Regions from separate parts of the Homo sapiens genome. Here all the other regions are linked to region 1. The links are contacts of gene promoters, found by promoter capture Hi-C in blood cells and fetal thymus (Javierre and others, 2016). All regions are on one chromosome and are shown on one strand. Each heading gives the region's core, a stretch centred on a gene start or on the middle of the fragment in contact. The rest is flanking DNA. Distances are from core to core; before and after follow the strand shown. Region 1 overlaps FTO (FTO alpha-ketoglutarate dependent dioxygenase). Region 2 holds the start of IRX6 (iroquois homeobox 6). Region 3 holds the start of MMP2 (matrix metallopeptidase 2).

Region 1 (4,132 bases), core at 754-3,253:
TAGCAGCTGCCTGGCTGCCCACTTGAGACAAAGTGTGAATGTCCGCTGGCCAGGAGACCAGAAGACAATCTGGGTATTGCCTCTGTGACCTTGTAACATTGTTCTACTCTATGCAGATTCTGGCATACACACACACGTGTGTTTTGCCTTGAACTTAACAGTGTCTCACCTCTCTGGCTTTATCTACATACATGATTACCATGGCCTACAGACATCTGAATCTGCAATCCCTGGTCTGAGTTCACTAGCATTCACTAGAAAACTCACAAATATCCAACTCTCATGCCCCCATCATCAAAAGCTCAGACGAATACTTCCTTCAGAAAGCCCGGTGCCTCTTTGGACATGAATTCACTATTCCATGTGTCCTTCAAATCCCTCCAAACCAGGTCTCTTATACAGCCGCAGTGTAATGATCTGAGGCACTCTTCGTACAAAAACTAGTAGATGTGTGAATGCAATAAAAGTGCTCAGAAACACACAAGGAGAAATCACCAGCTAAGGGAATGGCTCTCTTACTTTACAATGGCGAGTTCTCAACCTGCCACCGAAACCACCACTGTTTGTGTACGCGTCACTCAAACTCAGACTTTGATTTATACATGCAGGCGTACTTTCTTAACACACCCTCTCTGACTTTTCTGCCATAGCCCGTTTCCAATGCCACTAGAAGATGCTGTGCTTAATACAGCTTCCCAATTCTCCAAGGCCCCCTCAAAGCTTTTAAAGCTAGCATAACATGCAGAATTTCAAATGAAGTACCAACAGCAGAAAGATCATTTACAGTAACTATACAAACAAGCTAAATGAAAGACTTGTGTTCAGTCATTAAAAATAATAATGCTAAAGCCCCGAGGGCTGAAATGTAAAGCTTAGACTTCGTGTGAGGAAATAGAAAAGGAGTGTGTTTATTATCCCAATAAGATAACCTGTTAATTTATTTAGTAGGCAATTTTCGAGTACATTCGTCCACAGTGAAATCTCGCTTTATCAGATTATATGAAAAATCACCACCACAAATAAAATGCTCGTTCAAGCCAGGGGCTTTTGCAAGATAGAAATTACCAAGTAGGAGACCAGTAAGGGGTGGCTGGGAAGTGCTGCCACTAATAGCTTCCGCCCCCTTATTCTCCTCCTCTCCTGAACCAAGCCCAGAGTTAGTTATAGAGTTATCTATCTCACACTTTGCAGATGATGCCTAACATCATGACAACAGAGAAGAGGAAAGGTCTCTGGACCTGCCTACCTACAACAAGTTTCTGTAAAGTAATGAATACAGACAGCTTGGGGACCATCCACCTGCGCTGCCTGCCTCTTCCTGCCTGCAAAGTGAAACCACCAGGGATTGGCAGAAGGTACTTGTCTGACAGGGCCAGGACAGCCTTTCTCCTCAGTGACAGCCTGGGCCTACCCTCTTAAACTTGACCCACCATAATTCCTTCACAGTGCAGCAGCAAGGCAGCTGACAGTAGCAGCTGCAGCTCCTAAGCGAGATGGATGGAATTTTCATAACTAGTTCCCCAAGTTACATTTTACCTTCAAGATAATTTATGAGCTGCTCTGGAGCCTTGAAGAGACAATATGCTTGCCATAAAATTAACTGTAACAGTCTTGTAGGTTATAATTAACACTGGGAGGGTAGCACCAACTGGATGAAACACATGGCGTAATTGATGGTGAAACTGGAAATGAAGCAAGCTAACAATATCATTACTGTGCAGGCTGCCTTAGCAAAACCTATGCTTTCCGAGGGTTCATTGCAGTTGCCTCCCAGGCCCGTATTCTGGTAGGAAAGAGGCCAGAGCTGGGCAGAGGGGTGGAGGTTTTGCTGGCCAGGCCATGGGGTACCTGGACAGATACAATGGCTGTCAACAGTCTGGAAAGAGAGCCGTAGCACAGCATCTGGTCATATGCTTCCTGGAGTTCAGACCAGGCCCTACATAAGCCTTCCTTGTAGATATGACTTCATTTTTTCAGTAAACAGCAACTTTTTCAGTGAAAAAAAATATAAGAATAAAAAGAAGACAATAGGAACTTCCAAAACGCCCTTCCAAGGATTGGGACATTTATTTAGCATACATTCTGGAAGCAAAACAACTTAATATGAGCATATCTTAATAAAAAATGAAGATGGTTAACTAAACCTAAAGGTTTATTAAACTAAAAAGTAACGTCCTGAGCACCCTATCCAAAGTTGACTATGGAGAGAAAGGTAATCAGAAGAGTCCCATCAAACACTCCTGTCTCAGAAAGAACCACTAACCTATTTCTTTCACGCATGGATACTGAACAGTCTGACCAATACCTGAGAAGTCCTGAACATTCTAAACACATTGGAACGATTCAAATAATTCTAATAAGCATTTTCAAGGTGATTCAACTATTTTTTTTTGTTTTCTGATTTGTTTGGTTTTGTTTTTTTTGTCCTGGGACAATAGACTGGAAAATTCTAATAAATGATGCAACAGTGTCCCCTACAGGCCAGTAGAGCTGTTCCTTCCCCTTCCCCCATCCTCCTCCACCATGACTTCCTCAACTGAAAGCCAGAGTTAAACTTTTATCTATAACATTACAGAGTAAATTTGTAAAATACACTGGGGATACCCCTGAGATAGAATAAAATTACTACTCTTCATGTGTGGTAAATTGTTTCCTAGATATAAACAAACTGTACAGCTGGTGATTAACCCATTATGGAGTAGATAAATTGCTACCCTTTCACCTTAAGGGCACCCACTGAAATCAGCCTTGACTAACGCAGCCCCAAAATTACTTGACTTAGAGGATTTACAGAGATTTACAGATTCTTGGAGGCTAAACTTTGGTGTTCTAATTTTCACCCCTACTCTCCCACCTTCTAAAAGACTGTAACCAATATAAAAGAAATGACAGAGCATATAAAGGTGATAACTTTCCTTTAAAAGATCCATGGCAGGGAGATTGATAATGCATTAGCTGGATACTATTTCCTTATAGAGATGCACCCACAACTAAAAAGTGTAAAACATGTTAGGTACCAGAGGAAATAAATATGTAAAGATACATACCTGCCTATCTCCACACTGAGAAGGATCCTAGAAGGTCTCTAAAATACTAAGTGAATCGTATCAGTGGTTGATTAAAAACTAAAGCTTTGTTATTGCTCTTGGCCAACCTGGGCCGTCTTGGCTTAAATTCCATCTTCACTACTTACTAGCTGTTGCCTTGGGCAAGTTACTCTGCACCTCTGTGCCTCGGTTTTCTCATCATATAAAACATTTAAAACTCTGTCTGGAACACAGTGACTTCTCAATAAATGTCAGCTGCTATTGTTGTTAAAATTAGTACAATTGCAGACTTCAGGGAAAGTGGAAGTAGAGGAGTGAAACCCATCAGGAGTAACATCCACTTTTCCCTGCTCCCGGGGATCTCACGTATGGAGCCACTCCTTGTGAGAGCTGGAAGATGCCTCCCACTTTTGGGGCGATCGAGATCAAGTCGCTTCTTTCTTACATAAAGTTGCTAAGGCGTAGAGTGTCTGTGACATGCCCAGAGTCCTATAGTCACTAATGATGGGATTCAAACTGGAGTCCAGCCCTCCACCTGTCAATTCTGTGTGACACTGCTGAGCACAGAGCACCAACTCTGTCTAGTGTTCTTCCCTGCACCAATTTTGCAATATCAGGCCCCTACCAGGAGGCTAGGATATTTACTTCATGAGGCATTCTCTCAAAGGAGAGGCCAATTTGGATAAGGGTGGCTGGGTTTATTCCTGGCTTTATTGTTTTGATCTGAAGATCATGATAGGTCATTTTTATTGAACACCTAATACGTTACAGGTACTTGCTCTGGGTGTTTTACATTTAATCACTTAATCAACCCTATGAAATGGGTTCTATTATTATCATCCCCTAGGCAAATAACAAACGAGAAAATTGAGGCTCAGAGGGGTTAAGTAACTCATCTAGTTACAATCCACAATTGTAACTTGCCTGGAGTTATAGAAGTGGATCCAAGATTCAAACCCAGGCAATCTGATTCAGAATCTATGCCCCCAAACATATTAATTAAATTTACTCTGAAAGAAAACCATTTTTCCTCCACAAACTTTATACAATGGAAAGAAGGTAGCACAACTTTTATACAATGACCT
Region 2 (4,400 bases), core at 334-2,833, 1.4 Mb before region 1:
CAGAACTTTCCCAGGAAACCCTTGTCATTGCACAACATCCACTTTGGTTTGGAAAATCGAGGGAACCGGAGAGCTTGGGCCCGCCCAAGGAAGGGGTAGGAGAATAGCCGAGGTCAACAAATCAACAACAATATGGTGAGATGGACAGCGTTGTAGCCTACAAGTTCTTTCTTTCTCTTTCTTTTTCTTTCTTTCTTTCCTTCTTTCTTTCTTTCTCTTTCTTTCTCTCTCTCTCTCTCTCTCTCTCTCTCTCTCCTTCCTTCCTTCCTTCCTTCCTTCCTTCCTTCCTTCCTTCCTTCCTTCCTTATTTCTTTCTTTCTTTTCTTTCTTTCTTTCTCTCCCGGCCACCTCAGACTTCTGTATAGGAGGAGGCCTGACTGGGAGATCCCTGTGATCCCACCCACCTCACTGAGCGCGTGGTCAGAGTGCTCATGTTTCAGGTCACAAGATTTTCCAGCGTGCACTCCGGGGTGAAACGTTCTCATTTAGGGACTGGGGATGTCAGAGGAGGCTGTGACACATTACCCTGGTCCTTGCTCCTTCTGGCTTCCCCCAGAACACAAGAGGAGGATGATCAGAGGCAGGCGCCGTGCACTAGGCACTCCCTCCACCCAGTCTGTCCCCTATCCCCCATAGAGGCGCCTCTTACCTGGGAAGCGCCGCGGTACGGGTGTCCAAAGTGTGGGAAGGACATGGTGGCTGTCCCTGGCCCGTCTCTCTCTTCCCTGTCGAGTTCCCGTCTCAGCCCAGCTGTTCCGCGCCCCCAGCAGTGAGGTGTCTCAGTTCCTTACACCGCTGCGGATGCCCAGCGCCGGTTCCTTCGCCTGGTTGGCCCCAGTGGAGGCAGAGCCGAGGGCAGCCCGGCTGCCGAGCCCTGCGCTCCGGAAGGCGCCCCTCCGGCCCGTGGGGTCCGGAAGACAGAAGGGCCCATGGATGGGCAGGGGAAGGAAGAAGATGCGGGTTCCCAAAGGCGCGTGGTGGCGAGGTGAGGCGCGGCGCGGCGCGGGGCTGTGAGGCTCCGGAGGTGTCCCAGTCCAAGGTGGCCAGAGGCTCAATGTGACGTCACGGTAATCCCGGGCCGCCAGACGGGACCCCGGGCCCCGGGACCCTGGGCCACCAAGCGTGCCAAGCGCAGCCAGCCCGTGCGCGCGCGCGCACTCTCACCCACACTCACACTTGCTCCGGGAGGTTTGTGCAGCTGGCGAGGAACGTCAAAAACCCTGACCCTCTCTGCTCGGCGCTGAATCCTACCCCTTTTCGCCTGGAGCTCACGCGCGCGCGCACACACACACAACCTCTCCAAATTACCCGGGAGAAGTAGGAGAAACGCCTCCCTCTGAGCCGCGCAGGCCCCGGGCGCAGCGCGCTCACCTCCTCCCCTGCGGCCCGGAGGAGGCGAGAGGCAACCGGGGCGGCGAGGGAGGAGAGAATACAAAAGAAGAGACAGGAGAAAAGTGGGGGAGAAAGGCAAGAGGGAGAAGGAGGAGGGGAGAGGGGAGACAGGAGTCTGAGTGAACAGAGGCGCGTGGGGGAGGGGGAGGGAGCTGGGGTGGGCGAAGGCTGGGCGGAGGCTGAGCACTGGCAGGTGGAGGAGAGCAGAGGCCCGGGGGAGAAGCCTCCAGCCCGGTTCCTCCGCCCCTGCGCTGAAGTAAAGTTTGTTCACGCCACAGGCCCGGCTCTCGTTGGAGCAGCTCCGGGCAGCGTCGGTGGATCCCACTGGCCCGCCCATCTTTGTCCTCGGGGATCTGGTTCCCCGCCTCAGCCTCCCCAGGACTCGGGCTAGATTCCGGCTCTCCAAGCCCTGGCCTGGCCCAGGGCCTTGACCTTGGAGCTTCTCTGCAGCTGCCTGGTCCTCGAGTAGGCCGGATAGCGCCCCCTCGAGGCCGAGGTTCGGGATCCCTCAGATTCCGTCGGGAAACTCGCCAGGTCCGATCCCTGGCAGCCGCAGGCTGCTTGCTAAGATCCCTGGGCATCTCCTCCGAAGGCAAGGCTTGGCTGCCTCGCGCGCGCGCCTCCCGCAGTGGCCGCGGGGCAGCCAGGGAGCCTGAAGAAGGCTCCCGGTCCGGGCTGCAGCCCCTGCGCTCCGCTGGGGGTGGCGCTGGAGAGCCGCAGTGGAGCGCTCCGGGAGGGCGGCCCATTCCCTGCGCTCCTCCTGGACGCCCGGCTGGGCCCAGCGGTCTGACCACCCCCTCACTCCATCCCAGGGGTCTTCAAAGGGGCACTGATGGGTGGGCGGCGGCAGGGGTGGGGGAGGCTCGTTGGTACCCAGGAAGGGGCTGCCTCCTCTAGGCCTGGCCCCGAGACATGGAACCTCCAATTTGCGAGCACGGTAGACTGCACATCTGAAGGCTCAGTACTCTGGCCCCAGCTGCCCTTCTGAGAGCCTCCAACCCGCGACGTCTAGGGGTGAAAAGGGACTGTCGGTCTGGTAGGGGAAGGTCTTCGGTGGGCACTGCAGGAATCCAGTGGGATTTGCAGGCCAGAAACCTCAGAAAGCCTTGCCTTTCACTTACCGGGGTCACCGCGCTTTATACTTTTAAAAGCGCTTTATACTTTTAAAGTTGCACCAGGCTCTTGCTGCAACTCCTCCAAGGAGCCATAGGGGTTGGTTCAAGGGCCCAGTTTTATTTTCTAGTTGAAACGCGAGAGCCTGTGGCCCAGAAGATAGCAACGGCTCTGGGTTCTTGTATGAGGCGGGGCAAGGTCTGGGGTCCTGGACGGGGCGTACCTCAACTCCAAGTTTGCCACTAGCACCTTACACTGATCTCTTTAGCATGACATCTCTAGGTCCCCACACCCCGTTTTAAAAACACATTCTGCAGAATGCTCAAGGAGCTTAAGCCACAAACCAGAGACTCCTCTGCTTAAGAGATTGTTAACATGAGGACAAGCTCCATTCTAAATACTAACAAACACAGCTACTGCTGCTGCTGCTGCTGCTGTTACCTTGGAGAAACCTTGCGTTCATCCAGGGAAACTCCTAGTTAGAAAAAGAATTATAGTCCTCACCAGATTGACTTAGTGATAAAAATTCACAGTAATAGATAGATCCCTTGATTTTTCAAAATGCACTTTGGAACTATCCACACATTTGCAGCTTGGATACATCTATGCTATTTTTTTAAAGTAAGAATTGGAGAGTATTCATTAAATTCATCCCTTGGGGAAGATTACTGCTAATTAATTAATTGCAAACATTTCCAGAGGGAAGGTATGTCAATTGTAAAGTAATAAAATTAGATAGTAGAAATACTGACTCAGCAACTTCGATTGCCCATTTGTTCCTAAGCAGAATTTTTTTTAAAAATTTTATGACAGAAAAATGGGGCTGGTGGTGGAGAAAAAGCATTAGCCCTGTCCCTTGGCGATATGGTTGCAAAGGAGAAACTACCATATAGGAATTATTGATTTTTAGCTGATTTATAAGACCTCTGTTTTATCAATGCTGTGTGCAGGGCCTCCAGGCCTACTTCTTGTCTTTGCTCTCTAGGATTTGAGAAAAGCAACACAATTTTTTAAAAAGAAAAGAGGATGTTGAGGAACAGTGGGGAAGAAAATTGGGAAGTAGGACTATGAAGATATCTTGGCATTTTTCTTCTTCTGGAAAGACAAGCGAACAAACAAAAGAGCAGGTTTTATGTTAAGACACCTTTTCTATTGTCCTCAAAGTTGCTTGATGGTTTTTTGCAGCTTCTATCAGAATACTTCCCAGGGAGGAAGGCCTGCCATGTCTCCTCCGGCTTCCCAGCCTTGCAAGACCTTGATTTAACATTTCCTTCCCAGGGAGAGGCTGCACCCACGGTAAACCTCCCCTGTTTTGCTGACATTTGATTGTTACCACCTTGAGCATTTAATGGGGTTTCCTAAAAATGGTTTTTATGAAATGTGCCTACTCTTCTTGTTATTTTGGGACCCTCGTAACAAAACAATGCCAGTGGGTTAAGCCAATATCAACCTCTGTCTGGCAGAAACCTCAGGTGAGAAGATGTCTGTTTCTTGGAAAATCTGATTGAGGGGAAGCTGCAGTGGAATTTGCTTTTGTCCTCCTGACGGTTCACAGACTCCCACTTCAGCAGCCTTGGGCTTCTCCACCCCGGCAGCTTTTCATTGCTTTGTTCAGCACTGATTAATTTAGTTTCGGAGAAAAAGCCCCAATTGTATATGTGTACACATAGAATTTTATTGAAGCAAGTAAATAAATCCATCAAATATAGACCCTCCCAGTTATATTTAAGGGAGTCATTCCACCTAAAGTATTTTAAACAAATGATAGAGATTCTTTTGTTGTACTGTGCAACATGCCTGATAGTTCCTCTAGCTGCTCATTAAAACAAATGTGAAACAAATTAAACAATCAAAAGCCTATGTGTACCAGAGAGTACTAATCCACATTGTTTATT
Region 3 (4,570 bases), core at 181-2,680, 1.5 Mb before region 1:
GGCCTGCCTCTCTCCTCAGGCCCTACTTACGCAACACTGCGGCCAGGCTCAGTGCCCCTCCAGCCAGGCGCGCGCACGCTCACAAGACAACATCTGAACCGCGGTTTGGGAGCCCAGCCAGGAAGGAGGGCTCTCTGGCCGCTCTCCGACCCGAGCGGAGCGCAGTCCGCCCCCGCCCCACGCGCCGGGCCCTCCAGCGCCTGCCCCACTCCTCCTCCCTCCTGCCGGGCCAGCTCTCTCCTTCTTTTCTCCGACCCTTTGGAGAAGTTCGAGGAAACTTTCCGAGGCCCAGCCCTTGACCAATTTGTCCATTAAGCCAGGAGAAAAAAGATGCGCTCTCTGCTTCCCTCCTGCCCCAATCACTTCCCAAATGGCCCCCTCGAGCTGTTTGTTTAAAGGTCCCTCTCCGGATCTGTGCCGAAGGTTCCTAGAAATTTGCCAAGCCCCGCTTTGACCAAGCTCCCTCCCATCCTTATGCGCGCATAAGTTTACCCAAATTGTGTGCCAGAGCACCGTTCCCAAAGTCCTACATTAGCAAAAACGACCCCTGTAGCTGTTTGCCAAAGGCTTACCTAGACGCTTGGCAAGAGCCCTTAGCAACTGCCCAGATGTGTCCAAAAGTTGTTTACAAAGACCGCCCCCCCCCCCCGCCAAATGTCCCAGATACTAGAGGATGTCCCCGCTATTTACATAAGAGTCCCTTTCCAGTAGTTTGCCAGGTCACCCCTCTCCCACTCTCTGGCTTGTTTTTCGCCCCACTGCTGTATGCTGAAGGTTGCCAAATTGTTTATCAAAGGTTTTCTTTGCTTACAAAAGATCCCCCACCGTTTGCAAGAGATCACTCCAATAGCTTGCCAAAGACCCCCCAAGCTGTTTACCGAAGCCCCTCCCCCACGCTGTGTGCCCACCGCCGAGGGCAGGGGGAGAGACACCCCCATCCTTTGCCTCCGAAGTTTGTCTAAACGTGGTTCCTTGAGGCCAGCGCAGCAACTCACCACTGCCAACTCTTTGTCCGTTTTGGGGGCGACATCGCCGGGGAACTTGATGATGGGCGACGGCGCGGCGGCGGCGTGGCTCAGCAGGCAGCCCAGGAGACAGAGCGCCCTCAGGGGACCCGTGAGCGCGCCCCGGGCCATTAGCGCCTCCATCGTAGCGCTCCCTGGCCCCGCGCGTCGCCCGGGGGTCGCTGGCTCGGTGCGTGTGGCCGCCTCGCCGCCTGGTTGGAGCCTGCTCCGCGGCGCAGGGCTGCGCTCCGAGGGTCCGCTGGCTCGGTGGCCTGGGGTTTGCCCGGCTCAGCGGCTCATGGTCCGGCCCCCGCGCCCCAGCCCCCGCCGCCGCCGCCGCCGCCGCAGGTCCTGGCAATCCCTTTGTATGTTTAAAGCCCCAGATGCGCAGCCTCCAGCCACCGCCTGAGGAAGTCTGGATGCAGCGGAAACAAGGGAGGGCAGCCGCCAGATGTAGCCGGCTGGGCTGGGAGGGAGCTGGCAGAGCGGGGCTGGGGGCGGGGGGCGCACTCGGGCCCGCCCCTCTCTGCCCCACCCCCCTACTCGCCCTCCTCCACTTTTCTCCTCTTTTTTCCTTTCTCCACCTCTTTTCCCCGGCCGCCTGCTACTCCTGGCCTCTACGTCCACCCTCAGTGCACGACCTCGTCACCCCACTTGCCTCTCTCGCGATCTGGGCGCACAGCCTCAGAACCCCCTGCTGGGAAACATCTGTCGCTCTAGGCCCTTGACGTCCTGAGGTTAGAGAGCAGCGGTACTACTAGGAGGGACGCCGGCTTGGCTAGGACACCCTGCACTCCCTGGGGTCAGGAACGGGAAGGAATGGTCAGAAACAGATGATCAGCCACAATGATAGATGGTCAGAGACAGAAATTTTCGATATTTAGGGATAGGGACAGAGAGATTCTGGGATGAACAGAGATGGAAAGAGAGAGATGGAAACAGAGACAGTGGAAGGTCCCAGGTTGCTTCCTTACCTCTTTCCTTCTGCAAATGTGTAAGCCTTAACTTGGCCTCGTATAGTGCGAGATGCTAGATACACCTTGGGAAATAGAGCAGTCAGGGGCCCCGCGTTAGAGACGTTGGAACCAGAGCGACTCCATCTTGAACAGGGGGCTGGGTAAAATGAGGCTGAGACCTGCTGGGCTGCACTCCCAGGAGGGTCCGCATTCTCGGTCACAGGATGAGATAGAAATTGGGCAAGACTGGTTTAATAAGATAGAGGTCACAAAGACCCCACTGATAAAACAGTATGCAGTGAAGAAGCCAGCCAAAACCAAGATGGCAAAGAAAGCGACCTCTGGTCATCCTCACTGCTCATTTTACGCTAATTATAATGCATTAGCATGTTAAAGGAAGCACCCACCAGTGCCATGGCAGTTTATAAATGCCATGGCAATGTGGGGAGGTTTACCCTATATGGTCTAAAAAGGGGAGGAGCCCTCAGTTCCACGAATTCCCCACTCACTCTTGAATCCTTTCCTGCGCCAAGCCAAGAATCCATGTGGCCTCTCAGGTCGAATCCCAATTTTGAAGTTCTCCCTGTGACAACCGTCTCTGAGGAATGTCTTCTCCCTCTCTCAGGAAAGACAGTTGAGAGATAAGCTGTGATGGGGAACTCCAGCAGGCTGTTGGGAACGCCTGACTTCAGCCCCTAAACTAGTAAAGACAATCAAGGAAGGCTTCCTGGAAGAAGTGACTTCTGAGCTGAGACCTGAAGAGCTAAAGAGGTGGAGTGCTGGGTGGGGAATATGGGGAATGTTTTAGGGAACATTGACAATGGCCCAGAGATGAAAAACAGCAAGAGGCACTGGAGAAGAAAGTTTTTTCTATCTGAAAAAGGTGGGGCACAGGGTGAGGGGATGGAGCTGGAGGGGTCAGTAAGGACCAGCCTAGGAAGGGGGCAGATAGGACTGGGGGTCAGCAGGGAACAGTTTGAGAAGTAAGGTCAGGGGCTGAAAGAATCAGGAGCAATATACTTGTGGGGGGCATTGGAGGTCACGATTATGTCTTGATCATCACAGCTAGAAAAGTCTCTGCGGCTTGGGTCTCAGTGGGCTTCAGACAAGTTCAGGCTTGTCTGGTGGGTGTGTGCTCTGACTTTCCAGAGTCAGTTTTAAAGGACCCTCTTGGGAGGGACCTTGCCCCGCAGGAGGGAGCCAGGCCCTTCAGCCTGACCCAGTGACAAACCTTGGCTGTTTTGGAGAGGGCGAGACTGAGGTCAGTTGGGAAGGGGGATTGCCTCCTGGCCCAGCCCCACTGGGCTCATGTCCACGTCCTGTGGATAGCCAGAGAGCCAAGTTGGAGAGCTGAGAGCTGAGAGTGAAAATGGAAAAAGTTATCTCACTAAAGCAGGGGCTGCAAACTCGTGGCCTGTGGGCTAAATCCAGCCTGAACAGCATTTTGAAATTTGGGAAACTTCATGTAAAAATCTGACTTTCTGGTTTTCTTTTTTTAAAAAAATTTCCCAAAAATCTGGCAATACTGGATGCCAGTTTCCATATGGCAATAATTTGCTGAAGTTGAGTAGTGACTGCTCCCTTTAGATGAGGCACATACTTTGGTTTGCCACAGTCCTCACCACTCTCTATTGTATTGCCTTGTATGTGACTCCCTTCACTAGGTGTTGTTCATTTACACTTGCCCAATTTGAGTTTTAACCTTTTCAGAAAGTCTCTGGAGTCTGCATAACATGCTTTGGAGCTCCTCTGGCAGAGGGCAGCTTTGACTGTACCTCTTCACAGCCTCTGTGGTTTTGGCATTCCAAGGGTATCGGTTTCCAGTGTGGGGCTTGGTGCCCATTCAGAGATGGCAATGGCTGCAGAAGCAGCACTCAGTGAGAGAGAGGCTTCTGTGCCCAGCAATGACTATGTCAGAGGCATTGGAACCAGAGCAACTCCATCTTGAATAGGGGTTAGACTAAGACCTGCTGGCCTGCATTACCAGTAAATTAAGGCAATCCTAATCACGAAATGAGATAGGAGGCTGGCACAAGATACAGGTCATAAAGACCTTGCTGATAAAACAGGTTGCAGTAAAGAAGCTGGCCAAGACCCACCAAAACCAAGATGATGATGAGAAAAACCTCTGGTCAGCCTTACTGCCACACTCCCACCAGCGCCACGACTGTTTACATATGCCATGGCAACGTCAGGAAGTTATCCTATACGGCCTAAAAGGCAGAAGCATGAATAATTTACCCCTTGTTTAGCATATAATCAAGAAATAACCATAAAAATGGGCAACCAGCAGCTTTTGGGGCTGATCTGCCGATGAAATAGCCATTCTTTTATTCCCTTACTTTCTTAATAAACTTGCTTTCACTTTATGGACTTGCCTCAAATTCCTTCTTGTGTGAGATCCAAGAACCCTCACTTGGGGCCTAGAATGGCCCAGGGGACGAGGAGAGAACAGGCAGTATCTGATGATAATGGGCTTGTTGGTGAGCACATGCAATATGCTCCAGGGCCCCTGTGCACTCCTGTATATCTCTCTTCCCCTGCCACGGTAACCCTGGGAGCCCTGTGTTGATCTAGCAAAGTCGTAAAATGAAAGCAACCAGACCCACT

What was found. Contacts are between HindIII fragments. The CHiCAGO score rates a contact against its expected background, and 5 or more counts as called.
Region 2: the fragment with the promoter of IRX6 here is called in contact with a fragment that was not itself captured in region 1 in 1 of 17 cell types (M1 macrophages); the score reaches 5.6 in M1 macrophages.
Region 3: the fragment with the promoter of MMP2 here is called in contact with a fragment that was not itself captured in region 1 in 2 of 17 cell types (M2 macrophages and monocytes); the score reaches 5.9 in M2 macrophages.

Annotation. Positions count from the first base shown.
Region 1 is chr16:53,944,458-53,948,589 of GRCh38, reverse strand. All of the region lies in intron 8 of FTO (FTO alpha-ketoglutarate dependent dioxygenase), which reads right to left. Among named protein-coding and RNA genes, the nearest start is that of FTO-IT1, 93 kb to the left of the region's middle. RefSeq lists an enhancer at 2,339-2,633. The HindIII fragment of the contact is 2,260 bases long and covers 874-3,133 here.
Region 2 is chr16:55,321,386-55,325,785 of GRCh38, reverse strand. IRX6 (iroquois homeobox 6) reads right to left here and starts at 1,583. Exons shown (of 6, transcript NM_024335.3): 1 at 650-1,583. The coding sequence starts at 694. The HindIII fragment of the contact is 7,317 bases long and covers 1-4,400 here.
Region 3 is chr16:55,476,058-55,480,627 of GRCh38, reverse strand. It overlaps MMP2 (matrix metallopeptidase 2), which reads right to left and starts at 1,430. Exons shown (of 13, transcript NM_004530.6): 1 at 996-1,430. The coding sequence starts at 1,148. The HindIII fragment of the contact is 12,132 bases long and covers 1-4,570 here.